Linked DNA regions of Homo sapiens: region 2 is linked to region 1. Evidence: promoter capture Hi-C in human tissues and cell types (Jung and others, 2019). All regions are on one chromosome and are shown on one strand. Each heading gives the region's core, a stretch centred on a gene start or on the middle of the fragment in contact. The rest is flanking DNA. Distances are from core to core; before and after follow the strand shown.

The links. The method cuts DNA at HindIII sites, captures the fragments that hold promoters and counts their contacts. A contact is called where the count stands out against the background at its distance.
Region 2: a contact is called between a fragment that was not itself captured here and the fragment with the promoter of HOXD11 in region 1, in 1 of the 25 tissues and cell types used here (lymphoblastoid cells).

What each region holds. Positions count from the first base shown.
Region 1 is chr2:176,102,540-176,108,835 of GRCh38, forward strand. It overlaps HOXD11 (homeobox D11), which reads left to right and starts at 4,741. Exons shown (of 2, transcript NM_021192.3): 1 at 4,741-5,597. The coding sequence starts at 4,817. RefSeq lists an enhancer at 1,611-2,597. The HindIII fragment of the contact is 4,264 bases long and covers 1,020-5,283 here.
Region 2 is chr2:177,112,286-177,118,581 of GRCh38, forward strand. The region is part of intron 1 of LOC105373760 (a long non-coding RNA gene); the gene reads right to left. Among named protein-coding and RNA genes, the nearest start is that of MIR4444-1, 97 kb to the right of the region's middle. The HindIII fragment of the contact is 4,980 bases long and covers 1-4,904 here.

The sequences.
Region 1 (6,296 bases), core at 3,491-5,990:
AATGTTTTTCAGGCCACCAAATTCGTTTTTCTTTTCTGGTTATTGTTTCACCGCGAGTGTTGACTGTTCGTTAAATGAGAAAATGGCTTCCGAGGCAGTCAGGAAATGGTGTGTAAAAGCCTACAAACCAAATATGTTTGGAATATCCAAAAGGGAAGGACCATGGCAGATCTGAGTGTGTCTCACACATTAAGGGGACTCTCAGCTTGTTGCAAGCTGGGACTTCCACACTTAGCCTAAATTCTCAAATTTTAAAGCTTGCTGGTATTCGGGGTCTGTAAAGATTTGAGGTTCTTCAGATGTCAAAACAAAACGTCTGTCTCCACCGAATTTTGGTCTGACTTCTCTGGAACCGGCTATGTCCTGCTAAATCCTTGATACCAGCAGGTTTACCAGGCGCCCAGCAGACTCCCTTGGGAAATGGGGCCTCAAAACTCCCTAGTCCATCTGAACCTCTAGCTTAGTCCAGGAAATTCAGGGCCTGCTTGCTACTCATTTTCTTGCAAAAACAAGCTCCTAGCTGGTGGAGGTGGAAACTAGCTTTTAGCTAGAGGAAGAATTAGCAAAACCACTAAATCACTAACACTGAATATTCAACATTTCAACTCCCTTTCCCAGAAGCAAATTTGGTGTATAATTGAAATTTTTAATTGTTCTTTAATTGTATACACACACACAACTATATATACCTATATGTATATATATTCAATAGGAGAGAAAGAAGCAAGAGCTGCCAAGGCCCTATGGCTCAAAAGGATTCTCCACCTGGCTGGGCACATAGAGGCGATGGTACCCAGAGCAGGATCTCCAAGTCTGAGTCTGCATTCAGAGGTTTGCCTCCTCAAAAACAACTGAACAAAGGCTGAAGCCGCACTGAGCGCTCGGAAGGCTGGGGAAAGGAGGAGGAAAGCATATGAACTCAGATCCAGGCCTTAAGACAGAAAACACGGAGGCCGTTTCTTTCCAAAATATATCATTAAATCATCGTGTTCTTTCCCTTTAGCCTGGGATGAGTGGGGGGAGGGGATATTCATGGAGATCACTCCTCAAAGAAAATTAAATTATTCTAAATATAAAAGCGTATCTCTTGGTTCAGCAGTCTTTTCCAAATCTATCCCGTTTGCTATTTCACACAAATACAAAGACTCTGGTGTCTCCTTCCATAGCCCGGGTTCCCGCAGAGATTTGGAACCACTAGGAAATTTGTTAAAAAAAAAAAAAAAAAAAAAAAGCCGAAGAGAAAGGACGCTAAAATCTGAGTGCTCAACATTCCCTTCAGAAAGACAAATGTGTCCTCTGAAATGCTGCAGTCCAAGCGGGCCTCTTGACCAAGAAAACAGTTTTAAAACGAGAAAAAAACAGCTTCATCTGGCATTCAATCAGTTGGGAACTCAGAGGGCGGCGGGGAAGGGGGGACGCTTTTAAGGCCTGGGGGTTCTCCCCCAGGGAGGCGGGCTGAGGAGGCTTCCGGGATGCCGGCGGGTGGAAGAGAAATCTGGAACCGTTGTAAATATTCATGTGGGGGGATGCCCCTTCACCCTTCACCCGCCTCTCCCAGCTGCATTCCCCCCTCAGTGATAGTGGGGGAGGGCAAGGCGACTGCCCCACTGTCCTTAGACAAAGGTGATCTCCCCATATTTTTGTTCTCCAGTCGCTTGACTTAAGAAGTCCATTCCGAAGGCTCTGTAGGGAAGGAACTGGCTCTGGGTGTTTTCCCTGCATTTCTCTTCTTTCGTTTCTTAAAAGAGCATAAATAATTAAAGTTTGGCAGGGAGGAAAAGCTTTCTTGCAGAACTGTAGTGGCAATAAATGAAATGACTCAGAATCCCTTCCCCAGTCAGCTTTTACGAGAGCTGCCAGACAGTGTCTGTTCACGTTCTCCAGATACCAGGGGCGCCCTGACAAAGTTAAGGTCAAGTTAGTGTCTTATCTTGGGTGACTCAAAATCACCGCATCGCGTCCTGGCGCTGTGCGGAAAGCTCTTTCTCGCGGAGCGGCTGGCTGCGCCCCGAAGGCCTGGTGCGCTCCCTGCGTTTCGGGTGGGGCCGCGCAGGCAAGGACAAGGCCACAGAGTCGGGGTCTTCACGGTAGGTTCTCGAGCGGGACGCGCGGGTCCGGAGGCTGCGGTTTTCCCTGGGTTTGGGGAATGGGGGTAGGAACTAGGAGGGAGCTGGGGCCAAAGAGCCAAGCGGGCTGGGACTGGAATGAAAGCGCTCTGGGTTGTGGAGTGGGTCGGGGGGCAAGGGTCCGCGCTAAGGAGCCGAAAGGGGCCGGCCGCCCCCTTCCCCTATGCACCGGCGCGCCACTGCAGATGGCTCACCCTCCCCCGCCAAATCGCTGCTCCCGCCGGAGCTGCCGTCGCCATGTCGTTGAACTTGAATGGTTCGTCCTCCCCTTTTCCCTCTTCGGCGGTCAGCAGGCTCCATACTGGGGGCGCCGGGCTGCCTGCACCCCACCCCGTGCCGCCAGTAGAGAGAAGGTGCGAGAATTTTGCGAATCCCCAGACACATAAAGACCCGGGTTGAAGTCCTCGCAGCTGCCCTGGGTCCTGAGCTACCGCAGGGCCAGTGTGCAGCGTCCAGGGAGCCATTTTAGGAGAGAGATCCAGGGGCGTCGACCACGAGCCCGAAAGGGAGAGGCTTGGGCCTGGGATGGAGATGGGGAGGCAGATAAGTGTGCTGGGGGTCTGGGTTGAGGAGAAGAATGTCAGCTGGAATCTGGGCGGGGGTGCCAGCTGCGGGGAGGGAGCACACAAGATGGGCAGTTCTAGTTGGGGGAGGCTCGATGCCCTCCAGTCGCCACAGACCTATTTGCGCAGTGTTGGGGGAGGGAAGAAGACATGGGAAGGGGCGGAGGAAGGAGAGAGGAAGGGAGAAAGGGAGGGAGGAGAAAAAGAGGAAGGGGGGGTACATCAGCCAGAAAATAGATATTAGCTCAGACCACCCGCCTTTTCTCTGTCTGTCCGCACGGTGGGCAGAGCGCACAGCACCGGCACTGCAGCAGCCCGGGCCAGGGAGGGAACCAGCATCACAGCCAGCGCCGCCTGCCCTGGGTATAGGACTGAGGCCCAGGCCCCAGCGCTGGGATTGCCTGGGCGGAGGAATCTTGGGGAAAGGGGCAGCCTCCTGCCCTCGGTTCTGGGATTTGGGTTTGGGAAGAGACGGTTTACCTTTGAAAAGCGTCTGCTCACTCGGAGGTGGGATCCCAGGCCTTGCCTGGACCCATGGGCTAGGAGAGGGTCGCGGCAGGCTGGGAGGAGAGTGAGGCCTTGGGGGAGTGGATGGGGTGCCCCACGAAGAGTCTGCCTCAGAGCCAGGTGACACAGAGGGGCTCCAGGAGGGAGTCAGGCTCCGCTGAGAGCCCTTAGAGAGACAACCTATCTTGGGGGAGGGGCTGAAGTGACCATGCAGACCCAAGGGTACCAGAAGAGCCTCGGGGAAACGCGGCGTGGATTCGCAGGCCTTGGCGGGGCTCCGAAGCAGTGAAGGGTCTAGGTATAAGGCGGACACCCAGGCTAGGCCTGAAAGCAGAGGGGTGAGGAGGACGAAGGTGCGAGTGTGTGGGGGTTGTCTCTTGTGGGGAGCCAGCGGGAAGCCAAGCACCCTAAGAGTAGGACTCCAGATCCTTTTGTTCACCAGACTCCCCAGATTCTAGGGAGGCTGGGGACCACGGGCTGAGCCCCCTCCTGGCTTCAGTGCTGAAGGAGAAGGCAGAGAGGCAACGGGGAGAGAGACAGAGACAGTGACACACAGCTTAGAGGAAAGGAGGGGAGAGGATGAGAGGACAGAGAGAGAGAGGAGAAGGGAGACAGGAAAGCAAGAGGAAGGAAGAAGGAAAGCGGAAAAGAAGAGGAAGGAGAGAAGTGAAGACAGGAGAGAGAAGGGAGAAGACTGAAGAGAAACGAGGCAAGGAGAAAGAGAGACAAGAACAGAGAGGGAAACCAGAGAGAAGGGAAGAGAGCCGGGTGGGCACGAAGGCCCCGGCCTGGGTGAGTGCCTAGGTGGTGAATGGCCTGGGTTTTTCCGAGGCCAGCACTCGCACCCTTGGGGTCAGAACCGGAAAGAGCCAAGTCACTCCACTCTGAACGCGCTGGGCAGAAAAATATGTAAATCAGGGCTCCCTGCGCCCTGGAGAGTGGCGAAATTACTCCCGCCCGGTGAACAAGAAGCAACAAGCTCCCAGGCGGGTGAGCTGCAGAGGGTGGCAGAGTCGCGGGGGAGGGAGCGGCTGCAGTAAGGGGGGTGGGGTTCGGAACCTCACACCCTCACACCTAGTTCCTAGCTTCTAGGGAGCCTGGAGCCGGGGCTTCCCCCCCTCTGCTCGCTGCTTCTCTCCCTTCCCCCTTCCTCCCCCTCTTCCCCCTCCTTCCTCCTCCCCGCCGGCCTCGGTCCGCGTACTTAAAGCGGCGCGGGAGGGCGGACGCGGGCGGGCGGCCCGTTCGGGCGGTGGCAGATGCGCCCAGCGGTGACAGCGGCCAGCGGCGCGCAGGTGACCGGCCTGAGGCGCAGCCTGGTCAGGGAGCGCCCGGGGAGAGCTGGCGGCAGAGGGCAGCCGATCCGCCCCCAGCGCGCGCGTCTCGGCGCCAGGAGCCGTCCCGGGGCGTGTTGGCGAGCGTTGATATAGATATAAGGACATTTCTCTTCATGGCGTCACGTGACATAATTACCACCAGAATCAATCAAGATGAATTGCACGTCAGCGCCCGGTGGGGATTTTTGCTTAGTTGATCCTGGCCCAAGCCTCTTGTGCAATCGATGGCTCAGGTTGGCTGCGCGGGGAGCGGCCAGAGGCTCGCTGGCGCGCACGCCGCGGAGTCATGAACGACTTTGACGAGTGCGGCCAGAGCGCAGCCAGCATGTACCTGCCGGGCTGCGCCTACTATGTGGCCCCGTCTGACTTCGCTAGCAAGCCTTCGTTCCTTTCCCAACCGTCGTCCTGCCAGATGACTTTCCCCTACTCTTCCAACCTGGCTCCGCACGTCCAGCCCGTGCGCGAAGTGGCCTTCCGCGACTACGGCCTGGAGCGCGCCAAGTGGCCGTACCGCGGCGGCGGCGGCGGCGGCAGCGCGGGGGGCGGCAGCAGCGGGGGCGGCCCCGGCGGGGGCGGCGGCGGCGCGGGGGGCTACGCTCCCTACTACGCGGCGGCGGCGGCGGCGGCTGCGGCGGCCGCGGCGGCCGAGGAGGCGGCCATGCAACGCGAGCTTCTCCCGCCCGCGGGCCGCCGGCCGGACGTGCTCTTCAAGGCGCCTGAGCCGGTGTGCGCTGCGCCGGGGCCGCCGCACGGCCCCGCGGGCGCCGCCTCCAACTTCTACAGCGCGGTGGGCCGCAATGGCATCTTGCCACAGGGCTTCGACCAGTTCTACGAGGCAGCGCCCGGGCCCCCGTTCGCCGGGCCGCAGCCCCCGCCGCCACCCGCGCCGCCACAGCCCGAGGGCGCAGCCGACAAGGGCGACCCCAGGACCGGGGCTGGTGGCGGCGGGGGCAGTCCCTGCACCAAGGCGACCCCTGGCTCGGAGCCCAAGGGGGCAGCAGAAGGCAGCGGTGGCGACGGCGAGGGCCCCCCGGGAGAGGCGGGGGCCGAGAAGAGCAGCAGCGCAGGTAGGCACCGGGTACTGGGCAAGCGGTGGGCCCGGGGGCCGCGGGGGAGGGGGGGGGGGCGGAGGCCTCCCTCTGCTTGCGCCTTTTTATGTGCTACTTTATAAGCATTCGAAGAGGTTTATACATCCTATAAGATTTCCTGGGCCGTTGTAAAGTGTGTTTATGGTAGGAAACCAATTTAGGTGGGCTTAAGGTAGACTTCGAGGAGGACATTAATAGCTGTCGAGAGCCTTTTCCCAGTTTTGGGCAGGGGGTTGCTAGATACCATGGAGGGAGGGAGGGAGGGAGATTTCAAGCCAGTGTGAGTGCATACACCGGAGCCTCCTGCTTTTAAGGGAGAGAGGCGGGGGGTGGGGAAGTGGGGGGAGTTTGATCCTTGCACTGGACTTTATCCAAGCCGCTAGCTGACGCGCGCCGCTGGAGTCAAGCAGATGCCCCGGCGGGCCTGCTCTTGTCTCTGTTCCCTCAGGTTCCAGTTTAGAGCCTGCCTTGCCCTCTGCTTCCCCACCTCCGTGCCAGGCTCTGTGTGTGTGTGTGTGTGTGTGTGTGTGTGTGTGTGTGTCCGGGCGTGAACACATGTCCACGCCCGCACTCTCTCCTGTGCCCGCCCATATATCATCCCCCACGACGCAGGCAGGGCCTTTCGGCCGCGGCAGAGAACGTCCCCAACGGGGCCAGGGCCTGGCCCTCGCTCAGTGG
Region 2 (6,296 bases), core at 1,165-3,664, 1.0 Mb after region 1:
TACAGTAAATTATACTTTTTAAGAGAACAAATTAAGAAGACATTTTTATGACAAATAAAGACGGAAAACATCTTCCATTAGCACACCCTCACTAAAGATGTTTGCAAAGGAATAAAGAGAAAAAAAAGCAGTAAATATTTAAAAAGTTAACTACATAAAACACAATATTATGCGGGGTTAAAAAACACGATAGAATGAAAATACATAACAACAATAGCACACAAGGCATAATTGAATTTAAAGTGTTCTAAGTCTTATATTATTGGGGAGACCATAAAGCAACTAATGAATTAAGCATGCAAGCTAAAATTTTTTATACCACTGAAACACAGAAACAAAAGGTATAACTTCCAAACTAGTAGAGAAAAAAATAGAATATGAAAAAATATAATCAATTCAGAAAAGGACAAGGAAGAAGAAAATAAGTGGTATAGAAAATGTGGAAAAAATATAAAACATAGAAGGCAGTAAAAACAAATCTAAATATGTCTACAATTATAATAAATATAAATAGACTAACTGCTTCAGTTGGAAGACAAAGTCAAGCCATTTTTTTTTAATCTTGCTTTATTCTGTTTATAAGAGACAAGTGTAAAGCTTAAGAATACAGGAAGATTGAAGATATTAAAGTAAAAATGTAGAGAAGAATGTACGAAGCAAATACTAAACAAAAGAAACCTGCCAGTTCCAGTAGACAAATGTATTTATAGACAAATAAATATTATTGAACACAAAGACAACCATGACCTAATTATTAAAATTTTAATCATCTGGGAGATATTAATTACATATTCATATATGTAATTATTCCTAATTACAGCCCCAAAATATATAAAGTAAAATTGACAGAACCACATGGAGAAACTGACATATTGAGAGATTTCAACACACTTTCAGAAACTGACTACTGAAACAAGGCATAAATACTAGTAGTTTTATAGAAGATTCAAACAACACAATAAATAAATGTAAACTAATGGGTATATATGAAACTGTCCTCAATGACTCAACACTGTTTTTTTCTTCTTTTTTTCTTTTTTATTTATTTATTTATTTTTTTGGTAGAGTCTCACTCTGTCACCCAGGCTGGAGTGCAGTGGCACGGTTCAAGCGATTCTCCTGCCTCAGCCTGCCAAGTAGCTGCGATTACAAGCACATGCCATCATGCCTGGCTATTTTTTTTGTACTTTTGTAGAGATAGGGTTTCACCATGTTGGGCAAGGTGGTCTTGAACTCCAGACCTCAAGTGATCTGCCTGCCTCAGCCTCCCAAAGTGCTATGATCACAGGAGTTAGCTACCACACCAGGCCTTCAATGACTCAAAATAAACATTTTTCCCAAGCATTCATGGAATATTTTAATCAAATGTTAAACTATAAAGCAGCTTCCAAAAATTAAAATATATGTATAAATATATATCTATATATTATAGCTTATAATATATATCTTATAAGATATATATTAATTATATAATTATATAAGATATATTATATATCTTATAAGATATAATATATTATATATAAATATGTATATAGTATCACACACAGACTGGGTTTCTGAAAAGATAAATAGTATCATACAGATCAAGCTCTCTGACCACAATGGATTTGCAACCCAAAAAAATACATAATTAGAAAAATCCCTATATGTTTGGAAATTTTAAAATGTCCTTCTAAATTACTTAAGGATCAAAGAAGATATCATAATGAACATCAGGAAACATTCAGACCTGATAACAAATAAAATATTACACATCAAAACTTACATTATAAGTGAAAGAAAGAAGCTAAAGGAAACTTAGAGGAAAATGTATAGCTTTAAATGTTCAAAGTATAAAAAAAGAAAATCTAATAAGTAATGAAAACTATATACATCTTAAGAAGTTAGTATAGGAAGAGCAGAATAAACCCAAAGAAAAGAGAAGGAAGGAAATAATAGAAATAAAAATTAATGGATAGGAAATAAAATATTTAATAGTCAAAAGTTGGTTCTCTGAAAAAGCTAGTAAAATTTACAAACTTCTTATAATAAGAAACAAGAGAGATGACCCCAAAATGAAAATTAAAATAGTATGGTTATGAAATGATAATATTACATAAATGTATGACATTAAAAGGGGGCATAAATTCTAATGCTAGAGACATAAGATAATTAGGAGATGTATGAGCATTATTCCAATAAACTTGAAAATGTAGCTGAAATGATTCCTATAAAATAGAATTTATTTAAACTGACTCAAGAAGAAAGCAAAAACTGAATGGTCCTATAACTCCTAAAGAAATTTAGTCATTAGTTTAAAATCTTTCCCTAAACGAAGGATGAGGTCCAGGAGAGTTTATTGATAACAACCATTCAAGAAACAATTTCAATTTTACGCAAACTGTATCAGATTATGGCAAAAAAAAAAAAAAAGATACTACTCAACGCATTTTCTAAAGCTAGTATAACCTCGATACCAAAATTCAACACTGACATTCAAAAGGAGGAATTTGCAGACCAATCTTACTCATGAATATAAATGCAAAAATCCCAGATAAAACACTAACGAACTGAATCCCTCAAAGTATTAAAATTACACACAGACACACACACACACACGCACGCACTATGGCCAAATGGGTTTATTCGGAAATCAAAGTGAATTAAAGAAGAAAAAAATATAACTGACTACATTAACTATTGAAAGAAAATCATATGACTATCTCAACAAATGCATAAAAAGCATTTGATAAAACTCCAACAATCCTTTATAGTAAAAATTTATAGTAAACTGTGAATTAAAGTGAACTTCCTTACTCTGATACTAGACATCTACCCAAAAATTTGCAGCAAACATCATATTCAATTTTGAAATTTTGAAAGCATTCCATTTAAATATCATAAGTAAGTTTCTGTACTATCTCTATCTACTTTGACGCAAGGTTATGCTGGATACTCAATACAGTACATACAAGAAAGCAAGGAAAAAAATAAAAGGTCTAAGGATTCAGAATGAAATAACAAATCTGTCATTATTCAAAATTGATATGATTTTCCATAAAGATAAATTATTAAAATTAAAAGTTAAATAAATATGCTAAAATAAAATCATTATTCAAAATTGATTGTATTTCTAGGCATCCATAATAAGCAGAAAAAATTTAAAAGACATTTATTATAGCATCAAAAATATGATGTGCTTAGGAATAAATCTACCAAAGATACACAAGACTTCAGGGAGAAAAGTACAAAACATTATTGAAAGATATTAAAGAAGACTTTAATTAATGAAGAGATATACAATGTAATAGGTATTTTTCAAGAAGGGATGGGAGCACAGAACCTCAGACCAATGGAGCAGCATAAAAAGTCCAGAAACAACCCCACACATAATTGCCATTTAACATATGACAGAGGTGCTGTTGAAGGTCAGTTGGAAAAAAATGCATTAAAAAAATAGTGCTGGAACAATTTGTTTCAATATAAAAAAAATTAAATTGACTCCTACCTCATGCAAAAAACAAAAATCAGTTCCAGATAAATTAAAGACCTAATGTGAAAGGCAAGAATGTAAAACTTTTGGAAGACGATATAGTAGAACACCTTTATGATTTCAAACTAAGGTAGCTCTTAAACCAGACATAAAAGATTTGTTATAAAGGAAATTATTGACTACATTAAAATCAATGTCTTCTGTTTATCAAAAAGCATTATAAATGGTGAAGGGACAAGTTCAAACTGAGAGATGATTGCTACATGCTAACAAAGTATTAAAATGCAAAAAATATTTTAAATGTTTGCAAATCAGTAGGAATGACAAACAACCAAGCAGAAAAATGAGGCATAAGTAGTCCGTAAACACAAGAAAAGATGTTCAAACTCATGGCAAATCAGGGAAATTATAACCACAAAAGACCATTCGAAAATTGCCAGACGTAAGAAGTGTGATGAAATTAACTGTTTATGAGGTTGAGGAGCAATGAGAATGCTCATACCCTGCTAGTGAGAATGTAAATTTGTACAGCACTTTTGGAAAACAGCATGACATTACCGAGTAAAATTAAATGTGCGTATTCAGGTACTCTATGATTCAATGTTCCCGCTCCTAAGTATATATCCTAGAGAAATCTTGTATATGTGTACCAGGAGACATGTAGAAGACAGTGTATAACAGTATTGTTTACAATGCAGAAAACTGGAAAAAACCTAAATGCATTCAACAGACTGGATCAATAAGCTGTGGTATATTTTCATAATAAAATATCATCGAGGCATAAAAATTAGTGAGCTACAGCTACAATCATCAGCATGGATGGATCTCAAAAATAAAATGTTAAATTAAAAGAAACAAGTCGCAGAAGAATATGTACAGTATGCTTTTATTTATGTCAAGTTCAGAAACAATCCAAACTAAACAATGCAATTTTTAGGGGCATAAATAGGTAGTAATGAGCATAAAGAAAAGTTAGGAAGGGATTAGCAAAGTTCAGAATCGTGGATAGTTTCAGGGAAGGAGAGGGACAAATTGCTTCTGGAATATGGTACCTGTAAAGTGTTATTTCTCAACCTGGATACTAGATCTAAAGTAATCCCTTTTCTTTTTCTTAAACTGAATGCATATATCTTTATACATTCTTCTGTATGCCTGCTATGTTTTATAGTAAAAAAAAGTTGTATAACATTTGCCTATAAAATATGTTTTATAACATTTGTCTGAATTTTCCGGACAAAATTTTTTTCTGAATTACAAGAATAATTATTTCAGTTTCCTCTTCTGGGGCTTGAAAAAGAGAGTCACAGAACTTGAGGTGTTCCCTATTACAAAATTCAAATAAGTACTTGTATGCACAATCCTTGTTTATTTAGCAATAGGTTTTAATTAGGCAATGTAGGTTCTCAGAGTCACTCAAAGTATACTCGAAAATTATATCATAGCCCTTTTATTCTTAATTGCATTCATGCTATCCAAGAAATAACACTGTAGAGCAGTGCTGTCCAATAGAAATATATCATAAGCCAACTATGTAATTTATTCTTTCTAGTAGCCACATTTCAACATCTGATCAATATTTTTTCTAATTATTAATGAAATATTTTACATTCTTTTCCCTCCTCAATTTTCAAAATTCAGTGTGTATTTTACACTTACAGCACATCTCGATCCGGACTAGCCACATTTCAAGTTCTCAACAGCCACATGAGGCTGGTGACTACCATACTGGACAGCACAGCCTTATAGTCTCCAGATAAATAATGATCCCCTTAGCTTCAACTTTAGAAGTTAGCAGGAGAGAACCACCCACCAAGCCTCGGGGTCTATTAGGTCTCCAAACTACAAGAAAGATTTCTAATTTTAGCATGAAGTAGAGGTAGGTACCTTATTCACACAGAACAATAGAACTGGTCATTTTTATCACATCTTTTCTCTTTATATCCCTGAATTTCCTCTGAATTAGGCCTAACAGGAACTTCTTGTAAACGGGAAATAATAATGCTTTGGAGTTCTTAAACCCATTTTCCTCAGGAATCTAAAAAATGTTAAGAATACTGGTTCATTAATCAACAGACTAACAACAGTCTAGACATACTCTGCCATTTAAATTTATGTATATTTAGAAAAATCAAGCCTTAGAAGAGAATGGCTAACATCCCATCTAGAAACAGAAACTGAACCAAGGTCTAAGATTCGGAGCCCCACGGCTCCCCTGAGCCGACACCCTGAGCACACATGTATGTTCCTTTGGGTTATTAGATTTTCTTTTGGTTCCAATCATTCACAGTTAATTCCTTATATTATTTCATATTTCACCCACTCTACTTCATTTCAATATTCTCCCACCCCTTAGTTGTCTGAAGGAACCAAATTTAATATGCTGAGTCTTGGCCTTAAATACTTAGTAATGTTTCCAAGAGGAAATATACAATTGCCAAAAGGTTTTGTTTCTTTATTTTTTAAAGACCAGTTATTAAAATTTCTGTAGAACGACTTTTGTAGCAATAAAAGCCAAATATTGACTAATTAACAGAGAACTAGAGAATGAGATCATCAATATTTATGGGATTTTTTCTTCTGATTAATTTTCAGTATTTTGCATGAGAAACCTGAGTTTTCTTAGTCAGTGTTGTTTAGTAAGTGTATTCATTTTCCAGTAGTAAGTACATAAAGGTGCCACTAATGAGAACCAAGCATTGACTTCCTGGGATTCATTTGAATGCTTATATACACACCATTTTTCCAATCTTTCCCTATTTTTTAAACTGTATTTTCTCCACAGCAGTACAAAGTATTATTTAACTAACCTCCAACACATTGGTTT